2 separate regions of the Homo sapiens genome follow, and region 1 is linked to region 2. The links are contacts of gene promoters, found by promoter capture Hi-C in human tissues and cell types (Jung and others, 2019). All regions are on one chromosome and are shown on one strand. The core of a region is centred on a gene start or on the middle of the fragment in contact, and the rest is flanking DNA. Distances in the headings are between cores, read along the strand shown.

The links. The method cuts DNA at HindIII sites, captures the fragments that hold promoters and counts their contacts. A contact is called where the count stands out against the background at its distance.
Region 1: a contact is called between a fragment that was not itself captured here and the fragment with the promoter of ZSCAN21 in region 2, in 2 of the 25 tissues and cell types used here (dorsolateral prefrontal cortex and hippocampus).

Annotation. Positions count from the first base shown.
Region 1 is chr7:99,571,188-99,576,830 of GRCh38, reverse strand. ZNF655 (zinc finger protein 655) reads right to left here. Exons shown (of 3, transcript NM_138494.3): 3 at 378-4,586. The coding sequence ends at 3,247. Among named protein-coding and RNA genes, the nearest start is that of ZNF655, 15 kb to the right of the region's middle. The HindIII fragment of the contact is 3,683 bases long and covers 548-4,230 here.
Region 2 is chr7:100,047,469-100,052,837 of GRCh38, reverse strand. ZSCAN21 (zinc finger and SCAN domain containing 21) reads right to left here and starts at 3,064. Exons shown (of 4, transcript NM_145914.3): 1 at 2,997-3,064. RefSeq lists an enhancer at 2,543-3,162. The HindIII fragment of the contact is 16,971 bases long and covers 1-5,369 here.

The sequences.
Region 1 (5,643 bases), core at 1,140-3,639, 480 kb after region 2:
ATCGTTTGAACCCAGGAGGCGGAGGTTGCAGTGAGCCGAGATCACGCTACTGCACTCCAGCCTGGGTGACAGAACGAGACTGTCTCAAAAAACAAACAAACAAACAAAAAGTTATTCCTAGTTCTACTGAAACCTCGAACTATTTAGTCTTATTTTATATACCAACAACTTCCCAATCAAATCCCCTTTAAGTCCCAAACATTCAGCTTTTGTTCCAGAGGTCTGTGGAAAAGCAAGCTTTGTTATCAATGCAAAGGAAAGTGATCCATTCTTGCTGTGAAGCAAGTTCCAGGGAGGAAAGGAGTTGCAGCCAGAGATGTGATTCCAACATTCCCAAACGCTTCTGTCTGAGACCTTCAGATTTTGTTTGAAACAAATTCTCAGAATACCAAACACACCTTTATTCAAGTGGAAGTACAAAAGCACATTCCTAAACCAAACGCATACATGTGATTTTTACATATTCTGCTTTTTAGGGATTACATAATCCTGTTTCAGTCACCATACGTGACTACTGGTCTCTATACATAAGGGTATACATGTTTGACAGGAAAAAACACATGCATTTTTCATTTGCTTTTACATTTAGATCAATTCATTTATATATCAATTTCATTTAGATTCCTACCTTGCCTTGATGAAATCCTACTCTTGCTGATGGCAAAGAAGTAAAATATAGTGGCAGAACTATCCTAGAGGTTAGCCATAGGAGGATTATAGAGTGAGCAACATATTTTTATATATTTGTTGAGGGTCCCTACTGAATATTATAACACTGAACTATGAAAGCCTCAATTGCTGGACTGACAACAAGAATTTTAAATAACATTTGTCTTACTCACAAAATGTTATAAAGCTTAAGATGGAAAAATACAAAATGTTTTGACATTACCTAAAGAATCATGAACTCTTGTTAGGTATATGATGGTGGCCCTGAACTTGAGCCAACATCTGTAATCACTTTTATCAGTCAAAAAGCCATGTTCTTTTATATAGCCTGTAGACTATTAAAATACAAAAATGTGGTAATGGATAAACAACTATACACAAAGCCCTCACACTTCAAATACTGTCCTGGATTGATGAGAGAGGAGCAGAATTCAAACATTTATCTGCAATCCTAATGGTTAAAATTTTACCAGGAACAGACCTGCCACTCTCTTGAAATACTGTCTCTGAGATTAACATACGAACAGCATCATCTCTGTTGGAAGGCTACATTCCCTTATGATGCTGATTTGTGTGTGTGTGTGTGTGTGTATGGTTTTTTGTTTTTGTTTTTTTGTGTTTTTTTGAGAGAGAGTCCTGCTCTGTCGCCCAGGCTGGAGTGCAGTGGTGCAATCTCGGCTCACTGCAACCTCCGCCTCCCAGGTTCAAGCAGTTCTCCTGCCTCAGCCTCCTGAGTAGCTGGGATTACAGGCGCGTGCCACCACACCCGGCTAACTTTTGTATTTTTAGTAGAGACGGGGTTTCACCATGTTGGCCAGGATGGTCTCGACTGCCTGACCTCGTGATCCATCCGCCTCAGCCTCCCAAAGTGCTGGGATTACAGGTGTGAGCCACCATGCCCGGCCTGTGTATCTTCTTTATGTTTACCCTACCAAGAGCAGACCTGAGCATTTTGCTGGCCGTAGAGGTATATAAAAGAACTCTAAGCTTAGGCATGCAGAATAGGCACTGGATGAATGTAGTGAGGCTATTAGGAGTCTTGTTGGCTCCCTGATGTCCTTATCATGTCTTCTTCGCAGACTGTGGATGCACACAAGACAGCTAAAACCTTGGGCATCATTTGAAAATGTTTGGCTGCCTGCTACAATCTCAGGAGAGAGAATCCTTCATACTTATATTGGACTGGATATATTGTCAATCAAATTCTTTTTTAAAAAAAGATGCTTCACTTTAGGAAATAAGACACCAGACCAGCAACATCAAGTAGGTATGGAATACTTGCTGGTGAAACACTTAAAACTAGGAAACTTCTAAATCTTCTAAAGGTGCTTAAGAGAATGGAGAAGTTAATCAACAGGAATCCAAGTGTTGTGGCTGTAAAGCAATACGACATAAGATCCCTAGTAAAGAGCAGGCCTAAGAGTTGGTTTTGGAAAGAACTTGGGCCAAGAACAGCAGAAAAAGCTAAATGAGCTACTTACGTCGATGTGTTTTAATACTGGTGCATTAGCAGTATCTTATGGAAGTTGTGAACACTAAGAACCAATTTCAAAAAATATAAAAATGTTTATAGGGCATATTAAAATAAAAACAGCTTAAATGAGTTCTATAAATAAAATAGGCCCAGCACAGTGACACACGCCTGTAACCCCAGCACTTTGGGAGGACAGGTGGGAGGATCGCTTGAGGCCAGGAGTTCAAGACCAGCCTGGGCAACAAAGCAAGACCCCATCTCTGTTCTTTTTAATATCAAAATTATAATAAAAAAGTAAAAATAAACGTACCTACTTAGAATACATATTAAATAAAGGAACTCCATGAGAAAATGTCACTGCATTTACCAAGTCAACCCTAGATTTTTGTGCAATGAAAAAGATTGGGACTATGTATTAACAATTTCATAAACAAATAATCAACAATTTTCTCTCCATTATTTCGATGTTGGGTAAAGCCTGAAATGTGGTGTCGAGTTTTTCCATTTGCGTTACATCAAATTCTTGTCTACTATGGATATTCTGATATGACAAAGACTAGTTAAACTCCTATTGAAAGATCTGCCATTTACTACACCCAAATAAGTTCTCTTAGGTATAAATTCTTTGATGTTGAATGAGCGTTGGGTTATGACTGAATCTCCTCACACACATACATGCTTATTACATTTATAATCTTTTTGCATGGCGTGAATTTGATACTAAACAAGGTAGTTTCTTTGACTGATGGCTTTTTCACATTCATTGCAGCAATGGAATTTTATTCCCATGTGAATTCTCCAAATGTGACTAAGGTATGAAAATACTAATAGCATGAAAAATTTGCCACATTCAATACATTTGTAAGATTTCTCACTGGTATAGATTTGCAGGAGTCGATTAAGAGTTTAACACTAATACCTTTTCTTCATTCGTCACATTCAGAGGGTTTCTCTCTGGTGTGAATTATCTGATGCTGAGCAATGGCTGAGCTATGACTGAAGGCTTTACCACATGCAGTACATACATGATTTCTCCCTGGTGTGAACTCTCAGATGCTGAATGAAGCCTGAATTTGATAAATATCTTCCCATCTTCATTACATTCATGAGTTCTCTTTGGTATGAATGCTCTGATGTTGAACTAGATGTGCTCTCTGACTGGAGTTCTTTTCCCATACATCACAATCAAAGGCTTTCTGTCTGGTGAGGACTTCTTGTTGCAGGATAAGATCTGAGCTATGACTGAAACTGCCCTCATACTCATTACATTCATACGATTTCTCTTTCCTATGCATTTTGTGATGCTGAATAAGGCATGAGGTTTGACTGAAAGCTTTTCCACATTCATTACATTCATGTGCTTTCTCTCCTGTGTGAATTCTTTGATGCTGAATAAGATGTGAATTCAATCTGAAGTCTTTTCCACATTCACTACACGTATAGGGCTTTTCTCTGAAATGAATTCCTTGTTGTTTAATATAGGCCAACCCATATTCATCATACTCATAGGCTTTCTCTTCATGATGGACCCTCTGATGTTCAAGTAGGTATGAAGTATGGCAGAAGTCACTGCCACATACAGTACACTTACAGGGCATCTCTTTGTGAATTTTCTGATGTTGAGTAAGGTGGACACTACGACTGAAGACTCTTTCACAACTGCTACATTTGTAAGATTTGGCTCTGGTGTGAATTTTCTTATGCTGAATTATGCCTGAGCTTGGACTACAGGATTTATCAGACGCTTCACAGGATTTATCAGATGCTTCACATTTGTAAGGTTTTTCTCTAGTGTGTATTCTTTTATGTCGACTAAGACTTGAGCTCTGACTGAAAGACTTTTCACATTCTTTACATTTGTAGGGCTTCTCTCTAGTATGGATTCTCTGATGTCTAGTAAGGGCTGAGCTCTGATGGAAAATTTTCCCACATACATCACATTTATAGGATTTCTCAGTGTTAGGGATGCTCTCCCATTTATTAAGGTGGGAGAGATCCATTAAGCTTTCCTTACATTCACTACTCTGAAAATCCTCTGTTAGATTTAAGTGTTCATGTTTACCAGAGGCTGAATTCTGGTTGAAGCTCATGTCATACTTATCATTGTCATCGGTATTCTGTATTCTAAGAACTCTCTGATCTGCATCAATAGTAGAGTCCAGACTGAAGCTTTTTTCGGGTTCATGACATTCATTGTTCTTCTCACTGGTGAAGGTTTCCTTGCTGATTGTTATTTGCCTAAACTCTCTCTCCAGGTACAGAAATTTCCTTAGAATTTCCTGAAGTCTTTCTAATCTGTCCTCAGACTTATACACTTCTCTAGTCTCAGGAACTTGGGTAATATCGTGTTTGAGTCTTCCTACTCTCACTTTGTATGAATGCACTTCTTCCGAAATTTTCTGCTTAGGAATCAACAGCTTGTTCTCTTCTCTGGTCTCTCCATCTGATACAATATATAAATAGAAAATGCAAATGTAATCTGTACCCTGTGCTTAGGAAAAGAAAACTCAGATGAGAAAACTAAACAATGTAGTATCTACAAGGACAAGAAAAGTTTATTTACTCTGAAAAACAGGCACAAAATCTCAACAGCAGAAGTTAAGGGCATAAACAGGAGCAGTGAGGTAAAACAGCGGACATGTTCAGCAGAGTAAGGAAATAATAGGGAAACAGCTGAAAGAATTTTAGATAAGCAACTTGATTGGGGTCTAGTACGACATGTGCACGGATACTAAACAAATGGAAAGGGTCAACCTAACTGAAGGGAAAAGGAAGGAACTCTCCATGCTAGGACACACACAGAGCTCTTCATTCTGAGTGCCAAAGCAGCTACAACTTGGCTCAACAATTGAACTTTACTTCCCTACTAATTCTATCTGATTCTGCCTTACTCACCTGAGCAGTCATCTCTTAAGACTTCTCTAGTCTTAGTTTCCAGATCAAAGACCTGTAGATCCTGTTCCAGCTGGGAGATCCCATCAGGCTTGGAAATTGGAAATCCTGCTCATAGAGAAGGAAATGGGATGTGGCAATGTATCCCCAGGTCCTACATCTGCCACTTTTTCTTTTAACTAATGATTAAGAGAGACAGAAGGTCGATTCTGAGAAGACATTAATTAGGAAGGTCTGGAGAGTGAAGAGGGCAAAGATCTACAAGGAGCTCAGATTTGTGCTCTAGAGGGATGTGTGTTAAGGGGCAAGTTGATGACTTGGGAGCAGAAGGATTCATTTAAATATTATTCAGACAACAGAATGTGTGCATGGGTTTGTCTTCACAGAAGTTATCATTATCACTCTCCATCTGTTACCTAAAGATTAATCTTCGGATTAGATCTGGTCTACAAGTATCAAAATGGAGGTCATCAAAATGTAATTCTGCTGGACTGGAGAAAGGTGAAACTCAAGCACCTGCTGCATGGTTAGCTAACCTGTAGCAAGAGAATCAGTGAAAACTGAATAAATATTCTAAGGACCAATCTCAAGAAACAATTTGTTTCAGT
Region 2 (5,369 bases), core at 1,815-4,314:
TTTTGCGGTGCACACAACTCAAATGTACAATGCATAAAGACTACAAACGAGTAGAGGGCCGGGTGCCCTTCCTCCTTCCTGCACTCACTCTCCTTGGTGATTTCACAAGTTGCATGGTTTTAATTACCATCTATATACTCACAACTGCCCAAACTGTATCTCCAACTTAGACCTCCCTGCTGACCTCCAGACTCATACGACCAACTACCCACTTGCCATTACCACCTGGATGTCCAGTAAGACATCTCAACCTTAACATGTCCAAAATGGAATTCCCATCTCTCCCTCAAAAGCTGCTCATCTCAGCTAATGGCAACTCTCATTGTTCTTTTTACTTGGACCGAAAAACCTGGGGTCATCCCGAATCCTCTTTCACTTTTTTTTTTTAATTTAATTTTTTTATTTTTTAGAGACAGTGTCTTAGCCTGTTGCCTAGACTGGAGTGCAGTGGCACAATCACAGCTCACGGAAGTCTTGAACTCCTAGTCTCAAGCCATCTTCTTGCCTTGGTCTCTCAAAGTTCTGGGGTTACAGGCGTGAACCACTTCACTGGGTCTTTATTTTATTGTTTTTCAATTACAGAGGCAGGGTCTCGCTTTGTTGCCCAGGCTGGCGTGTAGTGGTGCCATGACAGCTCACTGCAGCGTTGAACTCCTGGCCTCAAGCGATCCTCTCACCTCAGCCTCCAAAGTAGCCAGGACTACAGGTGTGCATCACCACATCTAGCTAATTAAAAAAAATTTATTTATTGATTTACTTATTTTTGTAGAAACGAAGTCTTGCTTTGTTGCCCAGGCTGAGGCATAACTTGAGCTCAGGAGTTCCGGGCTGCAGAGTTGTGGCTGTACCACTGTGCTCCAGCCTGGGTGACAAAGGAAAACCCTGTCTCTTAAAAAAATAAAGAAGCATGCGGCTAGAAATCAAATGCTTCATTACTAACTCACATTGTCTACAATCACAGTGACTTTTTAAAAGCTATCTAGACTGTTTATCTCAAGAAGTCCATCAAGCAAAAGTTCATGGTCTATCATAAACAGAAGGCCCTTGTTCTGTGTCCATTTTCCCTCCTCCTTTATGCCAATCTCCCACAGCTTATATGCCCTTATGAAAGCGCCCCAAGTCCATTCTGTAACAAGATGAGGCATAAAAAAATCAAATTACCATAGATTCTAAAAGTAGAACAGCACTTACCCACTTGTGCTAAAATGCTTCACACTCAGTCCGTACCTGAAAATCCCTAGGGGGCCCGGCGCCGTGGCTCACACCTGTAATTCCAGCACTTTGGGAGGCCCGAGGCGGGCAGATCACGAGGTCAGGAGATCGAGACCATTCTGGCTAACACGGTGAAACCCCGTCTCTACTAAAAAATACAAAAAATTAGCCAGGCGTTGTGGCGGGCGCCTGTAGTCCCAGCTACTTGGGAGGCTGAGGCAGGAGAATGGCTAGAACCCGGGAGGCGGAGCTTGCAGTGAGCCGAGATCGCGCCACTGCATTCCAACCTAGGCGACAGAGCGAGACTCCATCTCAAAAAAAAAAAAAAAAAAAAAAAAAAAAAGAAAATCCCTAGATCCCTAGGCAGCCAAATTAGATAATTCTTGAGCCACAGAATTCCACTAATTGTTACAAGTTCTTCCTTTTTTTTTTTTTTTTTTTTTTTTTGAGACGTAGTTTCACTCTTGTTTCCCAGGCTGGAGTGCAATGGCGCGATCTCGGCTCACCGCAACCTCTGCCTCCCAGGTTCAAGCGATTCTCCTGCCTCAGCCTCCTTACAGGCATGTGCCACCACGCCCGCCTAATTTTGTATTTGTAGTAGAGACGGGGTTTCTCCATGTTGGTCAGGCTGGTCTCGAACTCCCGACCTCAGGTGATGCACTCGCCTCGGCCTCCCAAAGTGCTGGATTACAGGCATGAGCCACCGCGCCCGGCCACACAAATTCTTTAACCTGAATCAAATTCCGCATCATTTCAAAAATCCTAGGTTAGTCCAAGACCAATACTCACTTTCTCCATAGCAGCCTTCCAACACTTGAAAACAATTATCTTGCCTCTTAATTCTTTTCCTCTCCACAGCTCAACTGTTCCTTAGATTTCGTGGGTTTCCAAGTACCTCACCCATCAAATCAACGTTCTTTTTTTTTGTGAGACCAAGTGTTGCTCTGTCGCCCAGGCTGGAGTGCAGTGGCGTGATCTCGGTTCAGTGCAACCTCCACCTGGTGGGTTCAAGCGATTCTCCTGCCTCAGCCTCCTGAGTAGCTGGGATTACAGGCGCGCTCCACCACACCCAGCTAATTTTTGTATTTTTCGTGGGGACAGGGTTTGGCCAGGCTGGTCTCGAACTCCTGACCTCAAGTGATCCGCCGGCCTCGGCCTCCCGAACTGCTGGGATTACAGGCGTGAGCCACCGCGCCTGGCCCAAATCAACTTTGTCCTGACACTCTTTTATTTATACATGGTTCTTTAAGACTGTTTTTCTAAACCATGAGCAGATCCCTATTCTGTGTGTGTGTTCTAGCCCGAACAAAGCCCGAGGGGACTATTTCTTCCCTTGGATTTGATTCTACCCAACACTTCTAATGAGGTTCGGCTTCCCACAGGTTTCCAACACCTTGGGCGTATTGCCATCAATGAGCCTTGCGTTCGGACCTCCAGTTCAGAGAAAGGGAAAAAAGGCGGCCACGGTCAGACTGATAGACGGCTTGGCTTGGGGAACGCACAAAAAAAACTATTCTGGAACGCGAAAGAACTTCCAAAACATCTGTTCTTCCAGCTTTCATTTGTTAAAGCCCCAAGTGGAAGAAAAGGCTTTCCAGGCAGCCAGCGCCCCCACCAGCTGGTCCTGGGCGGGGACGAGGAGCTCCTCCCCACAGCCCTGCTAGGACCGGTCTAGGTGGGGTCCTCGGAAGCCACAGCTGCTAAACCCACTCCTCCCTCCCCAGACCATTCAGCCACGGCTCCCTCTCCTGTCCGCCTCGCTAACCCGCGACCAGCAGGCTCACCATGAATCAGAGCCGCTCCGGGTACCGGGAGACCGCACCGCGTACCTCGGGACCGCGCACCCGGAAGTGCGTCATAGCCCCGCCCCCGCGGAAAAGTAGTGCGGGGCCGTAGCGGCCCCTCTAGAAATTCGGGAGGTCCTCTCTGTGTCTCTGGCCCTTGGGACATCAGGGAGGAGTTGAGTCCACCCCGAAAATGAAAAGCCAGGGACTCTTTCTGTTTTTACCGAAGACGGTCAGACCAGATGAAGGCTGCGGCGGTTCTCTCACCCAACCCCGACGCCCTGGGGCAGGGAGGGCATGGGCTGAGGCAGCCACCTCGGTCACCCTCGTGGACTTCAGAGCCCAAGGTCCCTGAGTACCCTTGGGATAAGCACAGGGTTCCTTGTCCATAAACCTGGATCGAGGTCACTGGATACCCTTGGGCCCAGCTCCTCGGTCCAGGTTTATGGACATGGAACGCTGTGCTTGGCCCGTGAAGCCAGAGATTGAGTTAATACTTCGTTGATGAAAACAATCAAACTGTAAAATATTTGAAGACATTTATTTTGAGACAAATATGAGTGACCAATGGCCCAAGGTACAGTCTCAAGAGGTCCTAAGAACATGTACCTATGATGGTCGGGCTACAGCTTGGGTTTATACAATTTAGGGAGACATAAGACACCAATCAAGACATGTAAGATGAACATTGGTTCTGTGGGAAAGGCAGGACAATTCCAAGCGGGGATGTTCCAAGTCATAGGTGAACTCAAGGATCTTCTAATGGGCAACTGGCTGAAAGTTATTGTCTAAAGACCTATAATCAATAGAAAGGAATGTCTGGGATGACTAAGGCAGGGGTCCCCAACCCTTGGGGCACAGACAGATACCAGTCCATGGCCTGTTAGGAACTGGGCCGTTACTGCAGGAGGTGAGCTGCAGGAGCAAAGCTTCACCTGTATCTACAGCCACTCCCCATTGCTCTAATTACTGCCTGAGCTCCGCCTCCTGTCAGATCAGCCATAGCATTAGATTCTTACAGGAGCACAAACCCTATTGTGGACAGTGCATGCGAGGGATCTAGGTTGTGCACTCTTTATGAGAATCTAATACCTGATGATCTGTCGCTGTCTCCCATAATTCCCCAATGGAACCCTCTAATTACAGGAAAACAAACTCAGGGCTCCCACTAATTCTATGTTATGATGAGTTGTACAATTATTTCATGATATATTACAATGTAATAATAATAGAAATAAAGTACACAATAAATGTAATGTGCTTGAATCATCCTGAAACCACGAAACCATCCATCCCCCTCCTGCCATCCATGGAAAAAACTGTCTTCCACAAAACTGGTTCCTGGTGCCAAAAAAGGTTGGGGACCGCTGAACTAAGGGGTTGTGGAGACCAGGGTTCCCATTATGCAGATGGAGCCTCCAGGCAGCCGGCTTCAGAAAGAACAGACTGCAAATATTTCTTATCAGACTTTAAAAAGTGCCAGACGCCCAGTTGATTCTCTCCTGGATCAGGAAAAAGGCCTGGAAAGGGAAGGGGATTCTCTACCAAGTGTAGATTTTCCCCACGAGAAGACAGCTTGGTAGGGTTATTTCAAGATATGGCAAAAAAACATATTTGGGGTGGAAATATTTTCGTTTCCTTCTTTATCTGCCATGTGATGTTATGCCAGAGCCTGGTTGAAAAGTCAGCCAGGTTATATAAAGTTAAATAAAACCTGTCTGATGAGGCTTTATGGTTTGAAGGGGGTGACTCTCCAGGCCCCTTAGATAGTAATTTGGGCAAAAGAAGAAAACAGTCAGAGTTTAGTCCTCAACTTTGCAGACCAGGGTCATGGTGACATCAATCAGAAGTAGCCTTGCCCTTCTGTGGGTCCTAAACTTCCTGAGCAGAAGACCTAGGGGCTGAACTCCTTCCAATGCTGCAGGACTCGATGAAGATGTCTTTGCCTGCCTTTTCCTCCTGCTGCTCTGGCTCAGCTGCAGGTTTCCAGACTGAAGAGTCTGTATTTTCCACCTCAGCACTACTCCATCGGGCCCCCTGTGAGTTTGCTTTTGTCTGGTCCTGCAAAACTCACATGTGTTGAGGAACACCAATATGGCTGCCTGCACGTGGAATTCCCTGTCCATACGCGTCATGAATTCATAGATACTCAATATCATTTTTCCCTGACATTTTCCAGGATAATTTAAAAATTTTTTATGTTTAAAGACATGCAAAATTAGAGAAAATGAGCCTCCATGTGCATTCTTTTGTTTCTTTCTTTTTTTTTTTTGAGATGGAGTCTTACTCTGTCGCCAGGCTGGAGTGCAGTGGTGCAATCTAGGCTCACTGCAACCTCCGCCTCCTAGGTTCAAGCGATTCCTCTGCCTCAGC